Regions from separate parts of the Homo sapiens genome. Here regions 2, 3 and 4 are each linked to region 1. Evidence: promoter capture Hi-C in 16 types of primary human blood cells and fetal thymus (Javierre and others, 2016). All regions are on one chromosome and are shown on one strand. Each heading gives the region's core, a stretch centred on a gene start or on the middle of the fragment in contact. The rest is flanking DNA. Distances are from core to core; before and after follow the strand shown.

Region 1 (2,844 bases), core at 183-2,682:
CAGAGGTGGTGCCCCCCGCAGAGCCGCATCCTCAGAGCGAGGCGGGAGGGCCGGGCTTAGCAGGAGGAGGAGGGTCCGCTGCGGTGGGTTCACCAGGCCAGGGGGTCCTGCAGATCTAGGGCATGGCACGGTGTGGGGACAGGGAGGGATGGAGGGAGGGGGAGGGACAGAGGGAGGGTGAGAAACAGGAGGGTGAAGTGGTTCTGACAGAGCCATGTTCTCAGCCCAGGAGCAGTTCAGACAGCATTTCTGGAGTGCATCTTCTGTGCCTAGCACTCTTTGATGCCTGCTGGGAGGGACAGAGCATTGCAAAGTCAGACGAACACCAGGCCAGGCATGCAGGGACAGTACTAGATCCAGGTCTCCTGCCTCCTGGTCATGCAACCATTTACAACTGTGTGAATATTTTACAAGGATGGCCAGAGAGGTTGGGCTTGATGGCCTCTGAGGTCCACGGCGTGGCCAAGTTCTCATGCCACTTTCTCACCCTCCTATGACCCTGACCGCACACTGCTCCTATAGGATCCTAACATGCCCATGTTGATATAGCTCCCTAACAACTGTCACCAAGGGGCCCCCGGTCGGAGGCTGTGCTGGGGGTGCCTCTAGCCTGCCCCTAGGGCAAGCATCCATCCCTCCCAGCTTTCTGATTCCAGGGGGAGCTGCATTTGTCCCCTGCACCAAACCTGGGGGACAGTTCTCTCCATTCTGGTGCTTTCTTGCTGATGCCTGGTCCTCAGAGGCAGAGGGTGTCTGCCAGCAGGGATCAAGGGAGCGAGGCCAACACGGGGGGAAAGACAAGAAGGGGCATGAAACTTCGAGTCAGAACTGGGGTCCCACTCCCAGCTCCCGGCTGGGTGACTTCAGACAGGTCCCTGCACCTGGCTGAAACCTAACTTCTGGGCAACTGCTGGTATATTGGCTGCCTCCCGGGGTGCTGAGACTGGCATTTTGTAAAGTGGAAGGCACTCGGCAGCAGTAGGTAGATCCTTCCTGATGCACCGAGAGATCTGAGGGTGCAAACTCCCACTTCCCGCGCCCATGGGGAGCCACTCACACCAGAGAGAGGCTGGCACCACCAGGGGCGGGTCACTTTGCAGAAGGGCACTTGCAACTTCTCTTTTCTTAGGATGCCTGCTGGATTTCCTGAAGACAGATGAAGGGAGCAGATTGTCACTCCCAAGGCTGATTGACATGTCGGCGCAGGTTGGTGAAGTACCAGGTGCAGAGAAAGGGCGGCATGTGCCACCTGCTGCCCACAATGGCTGCTCGTGCCTTACCACCCCATCCTCTCAGCCAGCAGGAGAAGTCAGGGGGTACTGAAGGCCACCTTCCTCTAGGCAGATATCCCCAAGGTCACCCACTGCACTTGGACTTGCAAACCCTGGCCACTGTGCCTCCTGCCCCACGCAGCTGTGAGGGAGCCCAGGGAATGGAGCCTTAGACCCGGGCTGCTGTGTTGGAATGAGGCTATTCTGTTCCGAAGGAAGAGAGGGCGAATGAATGTCATGGGAAACACACAGAGTTAGCAAGAGTTCCATTGAACCCGGCAGGCAAGTGTGTTCTGTTGTGACCTCATCTCTTCCTTAGATGGTGCCCACAAACATCTCCTGTAGGACTTCCCATCCCAGGGGCCCTCAGCCTTTGCACAGCCCTGGCGTCGACCCCAGGCTGATGGGCAGGCCTGAGCTACACACAGATGCCAGGGACATGACTTCTCTGAGCCCTGGAGGACAGCCCCACCTTCTGCCACCAGGGAATTGCGAGTGCTGGACCTCCTTGGCTACCCAGGACTGGTCCTCAGTGTCCCTCACGTTCACATGCAGAACTTTCTGGACTCCATGGGGTGAAGAGCAGAGTGGAGAGGAGGGTTTTAGCCGAGAGCTCTAGCTGGCAGGAAGCACATCTGGTGGCCCTGTTAAAACTGGAACTCTCAGCAGAAAAGTTTTGGTCTGTGGTCAGCCTGTGAGGCACACACGTGCGTACACATACACACACACATACAGCTGCCACCGAGAGGAAACGCTCCCACCCACCGCCCACATCAGCCCTCCCACCTCGCCCCTCGCCCAGCCTTACCCAGTAGCGCCGCTGCAGGAACTGATGCCACAACGCCTTTTTCCGCTGAGGTGGGCAGACAGCCATCTGGGCAGGCTGGTTTTGGAAAATGAGTGCTGGTAACCGGCTTCAAACCCCAGGGCAGTGATAAGCCTGCCCACTGCTGCTGCTTCCTTTCCCCTTCCTTCTCTCACCCTCCGCTGTCTCCTATTCAATCCCCACTACACCCCCTTGGGAAATCTCGTGTGACCCAGGGGCAAAGGATGTGAAAAGCCATCGGAGTTTAATACCTGGATGTAGCCACAGAATCGGGGGTGAGGAGCCAGAAAATCAGAACTTCCCAGAAGGGCAGCCTCTAACCACATGCTGACCATGCCAATGGCTCTCTAAGCACACATGTACACACACACACTCTCACACACATAAAAACACAGACTCACACACACACGGACAAACACAAACACATACACAGACTCACACAGACACGCAAACTCACACACAGACAGACACACACACAGACACACAGACTCACACACACAAACTCACACAGACACACAAATACACAGACTCAGACTCAAACACAAACTCACACAAACACATTTACACAAACTCACAAACTCACACACACAAACACACACACAAACACGCAAACTTACACACACATGAGCAGACACACACCCGGCCCTTCTGGGCTCTTCTTTTCTTACTCCATAGGAAGCCATGCAAAGTCTCGCCAGACCTTTCTTCCAAGGCCAGATCTGGCCAACCCCACAGGAACCCTGCAAT
Region 2 (2,945 bases), core at 394-2,893, 250 kb before region 1:
TAAATATTAGTTTTTCAACCTTTAATCCTCAAATTATAGCAGGGTAAATATTTTTATAGTATTTTGAACTACTTTTGCTCTTAGATATGTTGGAGGCTGAATCTTTGGTTTGGTTTCTTTATCTTTCTATTTTCTGGGTTTGTTATTTTTTACTTTCTTACTTTTAAAAGGTATCACATTCTTCAGGAGAGCTTAATCAAACTTGTGGAAGCTTGTAATGACCAAACACATAACATGGACCGATGGCTCAGTAAATTGGAGGCCTCTAACTGGCTGACTCACATCAAAGAGATTCTGACAACTGCCTGCCTAGCGGCTCAGTGCATCGACAGGTAAAGTGCATTTCAGCGTTCCTGAGCGAAACATGGCGCTGCTAACTAGACTTTGTGTTTATCCAGACATATGTTTATAGATTATGTGAAAGTTTGCAGTAAATTACTGTGTAGGCTAGTCAACACCATCCCATTATTGATGAGGTGTGTGCCTAGAGTCTGGCATTTAATAGATAATGTTTGTTTCATAAATATGAACCAGGTAAATATACATGTCTTCTATGACACAAATTTTTAAGTACTAATGGACCCGTTTTTTTTTTCTAGTACACCCTTAAATCATGAATTTGCCAATTTTTTTCTTAAACTGTGAAATAGAATGAAAGGAAGTTTTCTTATTTTTTCTTAGAGGAGCGAACTTACCTCCTTACTTTTGAAATATCAGCGAAAGGAAACGTAATTTTGTTACACAGTAAAATGATCCTTTCTAACCTCCGGGATATCTTATTTCATACTACTTGATATGTGCGATTACATCTGGATCTCAAGTTGAGAACACCTAGTGGTAGTGATGTTGAGTATATGAAGTGATTTTAGTTCATATAGTTAATTCACTCAGTTAAAGGTTGCTAATCCTTGAGTCTTGTGGCAGAAGACTTGAACAGAGGCAGAAGGATTGGCACAAATTCTTGCAGAAGCTTAGAATGCCGTTTCTAAGAAGGGGATTCCACTGAAACAGTAGGTAGATATAAGTATTATCACCACATGGATAGATGGCACTTTTCTTTGAGACTTTAACTTGTTTTATTGATGCTTCCAAATTAGGGAAATATATACCTAATTTGTTATGGTTATAGAGAAATTCATAATAGAATGGGTTGCTGAAATCATGTGGTAAGTTAGCAACAGAGCCATCAAGGTAGAGTCCCTTGGGGTCAAGATTGCCAGGCTATCCCTGTTCTTTCTGTTTTAGGCGTTAGGTGAAGCCCATTTACCTAATAAACTGTGGGAATTAAAGACCAAGGTTCTGTGGCAGAGAAATAACAAATACATAATGATTTTGTTAATACTGAGGGTTTTTTTCTTTTTAACCTAAGTTTACCAGATTTCTCCTTACATTATGAGTACAGAGGCTTCTGTTTTTTTTATGAAACAGGAATTGTAATAAACAGTTAATCACCACATTTCTCAATTTTGCAGCTGTGACAGCATGATGATACAGATTAAGACATCCCTCAGTGCAGAATGCAGAACAGTTCTCATGATTTCCACCTTCATTTAGTTTGAGCTGGCCACCTCAAAGGCAGAGACTTCCAGACTCTTGGGAAGGTTCAGGGTTTTGGTTAATTTTGCCATGTTTGAGTCCCTTTTTCTGATATATATTGGCCTATTATTTTCACCTCCATACAAATTTGCCCTTATAATTAATTACTGAAAACATGAAAATAGAGTTTAAATGAATTGAATTCAGAATATCCCACAGATAATTAAGGTACATATGCAATATACACAGAAGCCTTAAAGTACATGCTCATCCCCTTCAGCCTAGTCATTAGGTTTTATCCTGAGAATGGGGTTAGCCTAACCATAAGTGACTTCAGGGAATCTGTTACTTTTAAATTAAGAACCCCCAAAGAATTCAACAGAAGACAAAAAGCTAAGTACATCATCTACAATGTAACAAAAATTGGCATAACCTAAATGTCCAACTATAGGATTAAGTAAATTGCAGTTCATCACTTAATAGGATATTACACACAGGCACACCTTAGAGATGTTGCAGGTTTGGTTCCAGAAAACCACAGTAAAGCAAGTCATGCAATAAAGTGAGTCACATTCATTATTAATATTTGGTTTTCTAGTGCATATAAAGTTATGTTTACACTATAATGCAGTCTGTTAATTGTGCAATAGTATTATGTCTAAAAAAACAATATACATACCTGAATTTAAAAATACTTTATTGGTATTTGAGGTTATTGGCCCTGGTAGAGGGCCTTGCCTCCCCATTGATGGCTGCTGACTGATCAGGGTGGTAGTTACTGAAGCTTTGAATGGCTGTGGCAATTTCTTAGACAAGACAGCAATGAAGATTGCCGCATCAATTGACTCTTCCTTTCATGAAAGATTTCTCTGTAGCATGTGATACCGTTTGATAGCATTTTTACCCACGGTTGAACTTGCAAAATTAGAGTCAGTTCTCTCAAACACTGCCACTGCTTTATCACCTAAGTTGATGTGGTATTCTAAATCTTTTTTTTTTTTTTTGTCATTTCAACAATATTCACAGCATCTTCACCAGGAGTAGATTCTATCTCAGGATACTACTTTTCTTGCTCATCCATAAGAAGCAACTCCTTATTTCTTCAAGTTTCATCATGAAATTGCAGCAATTCAGTCAAATCTTCAGGTTCCTAATTATTTATTTATTTAGGAGACAGGGCCTTGCTCTGTCACCCAGGCTGGAGTGTAGTGGCAGGATCACGGCGCACCGCAGCCTAGAACTCCTGGGCTCAAATGATTCTCCCACCTCAGCCTCCCAAATAGCCAGTACTACAGGTGCACACCACCACGGTCACCTAATTTTTTTTTTCAATTTTTAACAGAGATGTGGTTTCTGTTTATTGCCCGGTCTGGTCTCAAATTCCTGAGCTCAAACAATCCTCCTGCCTC
Region 3 (2,700 bases), core at 176-2,675, 130 kb before region 1:
CTTTGGTTCTGAGGGCATCTCACAGCGTGAGCATCTCGCTAGGATGCACTATGGGTTCTCACATTTAGATGCTCACAATACATAGTGTGTTGGGATCCCTGCACACAAATCAACAAATTCATCTCCTGCCCCAAAGAACAGGGTTTGTCCCCGTGATGCGGGAGCCCTGGCTGTGCTGGGCCCATGCTCGGCTGCTCCCTGGGCCACACAGACATTTTGCAAAGGTGACTTTGCACCTTAAACACTAACTTGAGCCCCGATTAGGAGGTCACTCTGCTGTAATTGAACCAAATCCACACGAGTTCCCACAGACTCTGAAGAAATCTGAGCAAAATGTGCAAGAATAAGAGGCTTAATTTGTTTCTAGAATTTTTTTCTAGTTGTGATAAAATCCATACAACATAGAAGTTATCATCTTAACCATTTTTAAGTGTACAGCTCGGTGGCAATTAAGTACATTCACGTTGTCGCGCAACCACCATCCATCTCCAGAGCTCTTTTTATCGTTCTAAACAGAAACTGCATCCATCAAACACTAACTCCCCATCCCCCTCCTCCAGCCCCTGGCACCCACCCTTCTACTTTCTGTCTGTATGACTACTCTAAGAACCTCACAGAAGTAGAATCACACAGTATTTGTCCTTTGTGAGTGGCTAATTTCACTTAGCATAATGTCCTCTGGTTTCTGATGGCTAAGAAGCTTTTTATAAATTAATCTTTTTAGAGATTTGCAATGAAGATATGTCTTTGCTGGTCCTGTGTGGAGTTAGTCGGGAGGACGGCGGTTGCCCGGGAAGGCACAGAGGGCTGCGCCAGTTCAGGAGAGCAGGTCTGAGCTGGGACTGGAGTGCCTCCTCCTGTTTTCCCTTCAAGCTCTGCCAAGGGGCCCCCTGGAGGCGGGGATGACAACACAGCCCCGGCTGCAGCCGCACACGTTTGACATAGATTGTTTCATCATGTTTTCCCACAACTCTAGATGGCAGGTGTGATTTTAGTCTGTCTTACAAGGAAACTGTCTCAGAGAAGTAAAGGAACGGCTCATGGCCAGCCAGCCTATGGCATCTGGACCACACTCGGGCCTGTCAGCACCCAGAGCTGGAAGACTCTCCCAGGCTCCTGTCTGCTCAGAGGCGAGCTGGGCCCAGGGGTGGCAGAAAGGGAAAATCCACAGCCCTGGGTTAGAACCCAGGTTCAAGCTGAGCTCCACTCCTCACTCGTTGGGTGGCAAGTCACTGCCACCTGGAACTTCTGTGTCCTCATCTACAGAAAAGAGATAAGGCCTCTTCTCATCTCTTCTAAGGACAGTGAGAATGAAATTCGACAACAAATAGCATGGCAGAAAATATGAACTACGCTGGCCAAATCAAAGTAAGAGGTGCACCATCACTTAAGTCCTTTCTCTCCAGGCCAAGGCACAGAACATGGAACCCAGCAAGGACCTCCCAGTTTTAAGCCCTCATTAAAAGCCTGAAAAGCTGGCCAGGGTGACTCAACTCTCAGTGTGGGTTTCATGCTGTCTCTGGCAAAGGCTCTACCATAGGATGTGCCAATTTCCAGTCCCCGCTCCCAGCGTGGCCTGGTGTCTCTCTGAGAACAAAAGCACTTGCTGAATTCTCAGAGGTGCAGCCTGTAATCCCAGCAACCCCATAATTAGGGCACAGAACTTGTTGAAAGGGAAGAGATGTCATTGGTCGGGGGCTGTCCAAGCACTGTGGTGACAGGGTGTCCCCACCAGGCTTGGAAGAAGGGAAGGGCGGCAGCCACACGTGGCCCCTTTGAAACAGCTGTGCTTGTGATCTGTACTACAGATGTTTGTTTTTTTGGGGGCAGACAAGAATGCTCGTTAAGATGTGAGCCACTGCACCTGGGTGAAGTGTTGAAATGTTCTAAAATTATACGTGATGATGGTTGCACAACTCTGAAAACACTAAAAACCACTGAATTGCTATTTCAAATAGGTGAACTGTATGGTATGTAAAGTTTATCTCAATGAAGTCATTTTGAAAAATTTTAAACACCAATTAAAGAAAGAGAGCAAGAGAGAGAGCCAGGTTGTTTCTCAAGGTAGAAGGCAAACCCCCAAGAGCAGGATTAAGTCACTAAAGATGGTAATTAAATGGGTCTGGAAGAGGACAGAGATTTCCTTACTTCCAAGCTTTACGTGGTGAGGGGAGGGTGTGGCAAGGGGGCTGGAGGAGACGGCCAAGGCGGCCCTGGAAGAAGGACCCAGAGAGGAAAAACGCAAGGGGAAGGTCAGCCGAGGACATTCAGATCATAGAAAAGTCTAATGCATCAAGCCAGTGGTTTGCTGGGGGGTCTCTCTGGACCTGGGGATTTTCCTGGGGAGTCAGAAGAGCTGACTCCTACCCTCGGAGCTGGGTGGAATAAAACAAAAGCCTTAAGAAAGGTGTGGGAAACAGCATGGCGGGTCCCGGAAAGTTAAACAGAATTACCATATGACATGGCAATGCCACTCCAGGTACACACCCCAAACAAATGAAGGCAAAAGCTAGAACCTGGATTTGTACATCCACGTTCACAATCACCAATAGGCGGAACCAACCCAGTGCCCTCCACAGATGAATGGATCCACACAATGTGGCCTATCCATAAAGTGGAATATTATTCAGCCTTGAAAAGGAAGACAATCCTGGCACATGCCATAACATGGATGAATCTTGAGGACATTATGCTAAGTGA
Region 4 (2,780 bases), core at 275-2,774, 150 kb after region 1:
CCACCCTGTGGGGGAGGGGAAGCCCAGGCTTGAGAAGCAAAGCTCGCGTTTATTGACCACCTACTAAGTGCTAAATCCTTCTGCATTTGTTCTCACTTTGAAGAGTAAAGGCTACCCCTGCCAGGTTTCCAGTCTTGGGCTGGCTCCGAGAAGGGCCTAGGCTTTGAAGCGCTTTTAAATTGTCCTCTGGCCCTGGGTGGCCAGGGAAGGTTCCCGGGGGTGCAGCCAAATACACATCGCCGGCAAACTGATTAACCCTGAAAGTGGCGCCGAGGCCCGGTCTGTGGCTCTTGGTGTTCCCCTCCCCCTCACCCCTCTTGGGGGAGCCAGACGGCCACCCCCAGGGGAGGAGGGGCCCGGCCGAGCCTCGCCGCGACTTTTGCGAGATAGCGCGGCGACATGGCCACACAATGGAGCCCGCAGGCGGGAGTGCGGGGCGGGGCGCGGCGCCCTGGCCTTGCGCGCTTACGGGGTCCTCTCCAGGGCCCTCTGGGGCCTCTGACTTAAAATAGGGAGGACTGGGCCAGGAGATCGAGACCATCCTGGCCAACCTGTTGAAACCCCGCCTCTACTAAAATACAAAAAAAAAAAAAAAAATTAGCGGTCGTGGTGGCGCGCGCCTGTAGTCTCAGCTACTGGGGAAGCTGAGGCAGGAGAATCGCTTGAACCCGGGAGGCAGAAGTTGCAGTGAGCCGAGATCGCGCCACTGCACTCCAGCCTGGTAACAGAACAAGACTACGTCTCAAAAAAAAAAAAAAAAAAAAAAAAAAGGACTGGTCCAGGGAGAGTTTGCTTTGTAACCCCGACAATCCTGGAGGGAATTTGGTGTTTGGTTAAGGAAAAGAGAGAAGTTAAAAGTCATGAGTTACATCCAGCAGTGTAAAAACGAAATACCCGCCGGGCGCGGTGTCTCACGCCTGTAATCCCAGCACTTTGGGAGGCCGAGGCAGGCGGATCACAAGGTCAGGAGTTCCTGGCCAACATGGTGAAACCCCATCTCTACTAAAAATACAAAAATTAGCTGGGTTTGGTGGTGTGTGCTTATAGTCCCAGTTACTTGGGAGGCTGAGGCAGGAGAATCGGTTGAACCCGGGAGGCGGAGGTTGAGTGAGATTGCTCCACTGCACTCCAGGCCTGGCGACAGAGGGAGTATGTCTCAAAACAAACAAACAAAAAACCGAAATACCATGTGAATGCACACAGTATTCAGATTTTGAAATGTCAGCCATGCCATGTAGAGGTTGCTGATGAAGTGATGTTTCCCAAATTCCCATGTCAGCAAATGGCAAGCTGACCTCCCTGTGCGTCTCTCTGCCAAGAACTGCCACCTGCCTTCTCTGGGCTCTTCCCGGATAGCTTATGAAGTCCACAGCCTTTGAATCTGGCCTAGAGGGTGGTTTTTCTCTTCTGCACCCAGCCAAGTGTTTTAGGAGAGGTGCGGCTCTCTGTGAGGGAACACAGGGCATGTTGAACTTGTTGGCATTCATAGCTTCAGCGTGTTATGCAGGTGGCACTTACATAAAAGCAACTGAAATTAAAAGCAGTGCATGTGGCCAGGCGCAGAGGCTCATGCCTGTAATCCCAGCACTTTGGGAGGCTGAGGCAGGAGGATCATTTGAGGCCAGGAGTTCGAGGTCAGCCTGGGCAACATAGTGAGACCCCATCCCTACAAATCATTTTAAAAAATTAGCCAGGCTTGGGGTGGCATGCCTGTAGTCCCAGCTTTGGAAGCTGAGGTAGGAGGCTCACATGAGCCCGAGGCCACTGCACTCCAGCCTGGGTGACAGAGTGAGACCCTCTCTCAAAAAAAAAAAAAAAAAAAAAAAAACCAGTGCATGTGAATGTGCTTTTTATATGTTCTTCCCATTACTTGGGCTCTCCTACCTGCCTGGCAGCTTTAGTGAGGACCAGCATCACATAGTAGCTGACCCTGAGTCATGGAGGGAAGATGAGAACTGACCCCAGCTTTCTGAGGAGTTGCCACTGAGCCCTAAGATGGCCAGACAGTGTGGTGGGAGGAGCACAGGGTTTTAAAGTTGGGCAAACCTAGATTCAGTTCCAGGAGCCTCGTGTCATCTTGGGCAAGTTACTTACCTCTCTCGGTCTCACCTCTTTTTCTGTAAAATGGGATCATCATAACAATTTTTAGTGTTGCCTTAAATTAGAAAAGTAAGGTAATACTTTTGAAGAATTTGGCTTTAGCCCTTCATAAATGATGGTTATTTTATTGAATAGCCACTCACTGTCATGTAGAGTTACCAATTTTGCTGGTGTGCCCAGGACTGAGGGTTTTCCCAGAATGTGGGATTGTTCGTGGTAAACCTGGGACAGTCCCCAGTGAACGCAGATTGTTGGACACTCAATGTGAAAATGGGTGCATTACCCATCGTTGTGGTTTGGTAATGAGCTGAGAACAAAGAAGAAACAGCAGAGGAGAAGCAGCTGAGAGCAAAGGAGAAGCAGCATCATTCTTCCCTCTGCTGAGATTCTGGAAGTAGTCATTTAAGTGCTGCCAGCTTCATTTGGTCTTGAAGGGTGAGTAGGAGTTTGTCAGGAAAAGAACCAGCAATTTTTTAAAAAAAGAAATATTGACCATTTTATAGGAAAAAAAAGAAAGACAAAGAAAAAGAGGCCAGGTGCAGTGGCTCACACCTGTAATCCCACCCTTTGGGAGGCTGAGGTGGGAGGATTGCTTGAGCTCGGGAGTTTGAGACCAACCTGGACAACATAGTGAGACCACATCTCTAAAAAAAAAAAAAAAAAAAAATTAACTGGGCATG

What was found. Contacts are between HindIII fragments. The CHiCAGO score rates a contact against its expected background, and 5 or more counts as called.
Region 2: a contact is called between a fragment that was not itself captured here and the fragment with the promoter of BLK-AS1 in region 1, in 4 of 17 cell types (M2 macrophages, fetal thymus, total B cells and 1 more). The highest score is 6.6, in M2 macrophages.
Region 3: a fragment that was not itself captured here is called in contact with the fragment with the promoter of BLK-AS1 in region 1 in 8 of 17 cell types (fetal thymus, total B cells, naive B cells and 5 more); the score reaches 17.2 in fetal thymus.
Region 4: a fragment that was not itself captured here is called in contact with the fragment with the promoter of BLK-AS1 in region 1 in 3 of 17 cell types (total B cells, naive B cells and M2 macrophages); the score reaches 35.3 in total B cells.

What each region holds. Positions count from the first base shown.
Region 1 is chr8:11,556,833-11,559,676 of GRCh38, forward strand. BLK-AS1 (BLK antisense RNA 1) reads right to left here and starts at 1,433. Exons shown (of 5, transcript XR_948956.3): 1 at 1,058-1,433. BLK (BLK proto-oncogene, Src family tyrosine kinase) reads left to right here. Exons shown (of 13, transcript NM_001715.3): 9 at 1-5; 10 at 1,130-1,206. RefSeq lists an enhancer at 1,603-1,892. The HindIII fragment of the contact is 8,296 bases long and covers 1-2,844 here.
Region 2 is chr8:11,309,357-11,312,301 of GRCh38, forward strand. It overlaps MTMR9 (myotubularin related protein 9), which reads left to right. Exons shown (of 10, transcript NM_015458.4): 6 at 171-332. Among named protein-coding and RNA genes, the nearest start is that of MTMR9-AS1, 15 kb to the right of the region's middle. The HindIII fragment of the contact is 1,350 bases long and covers 969-2,318 here.
Region 3 is chr8:11,428,578-11,431,277 of GRCh38, forward strand. All of the region lies in intron 2 of FAM167A (family with sequence similarity 167 member A), which reads right to left. The region is part of intron 3 of FAM167A-AS1 (FAM167A antisense RNA 1); the gene reads left to right. Among named protein-coding and RNA genes, the nearest start is that of FAM167A, 37 kb to the right of the region's middle. The HindIII fragment of the contact is 1,455 bases long and covers 699-2,153 here.
Region 4 is chr8:11,709,945-11,712,724 of GRCh38, forward strand. All of the region lies in intron 2 of GATA4 (GATA binding protein 4), which reads left to right. Among named protein-coding and RNA genes, the nearest start is that of SNORA99, 6.0 kb to the left of the region's middle. RefSeq lists enhancers at 1-37, 38-961. The HindIII fragment of the contact is 9,957 bases long and covers 1-2,780 here.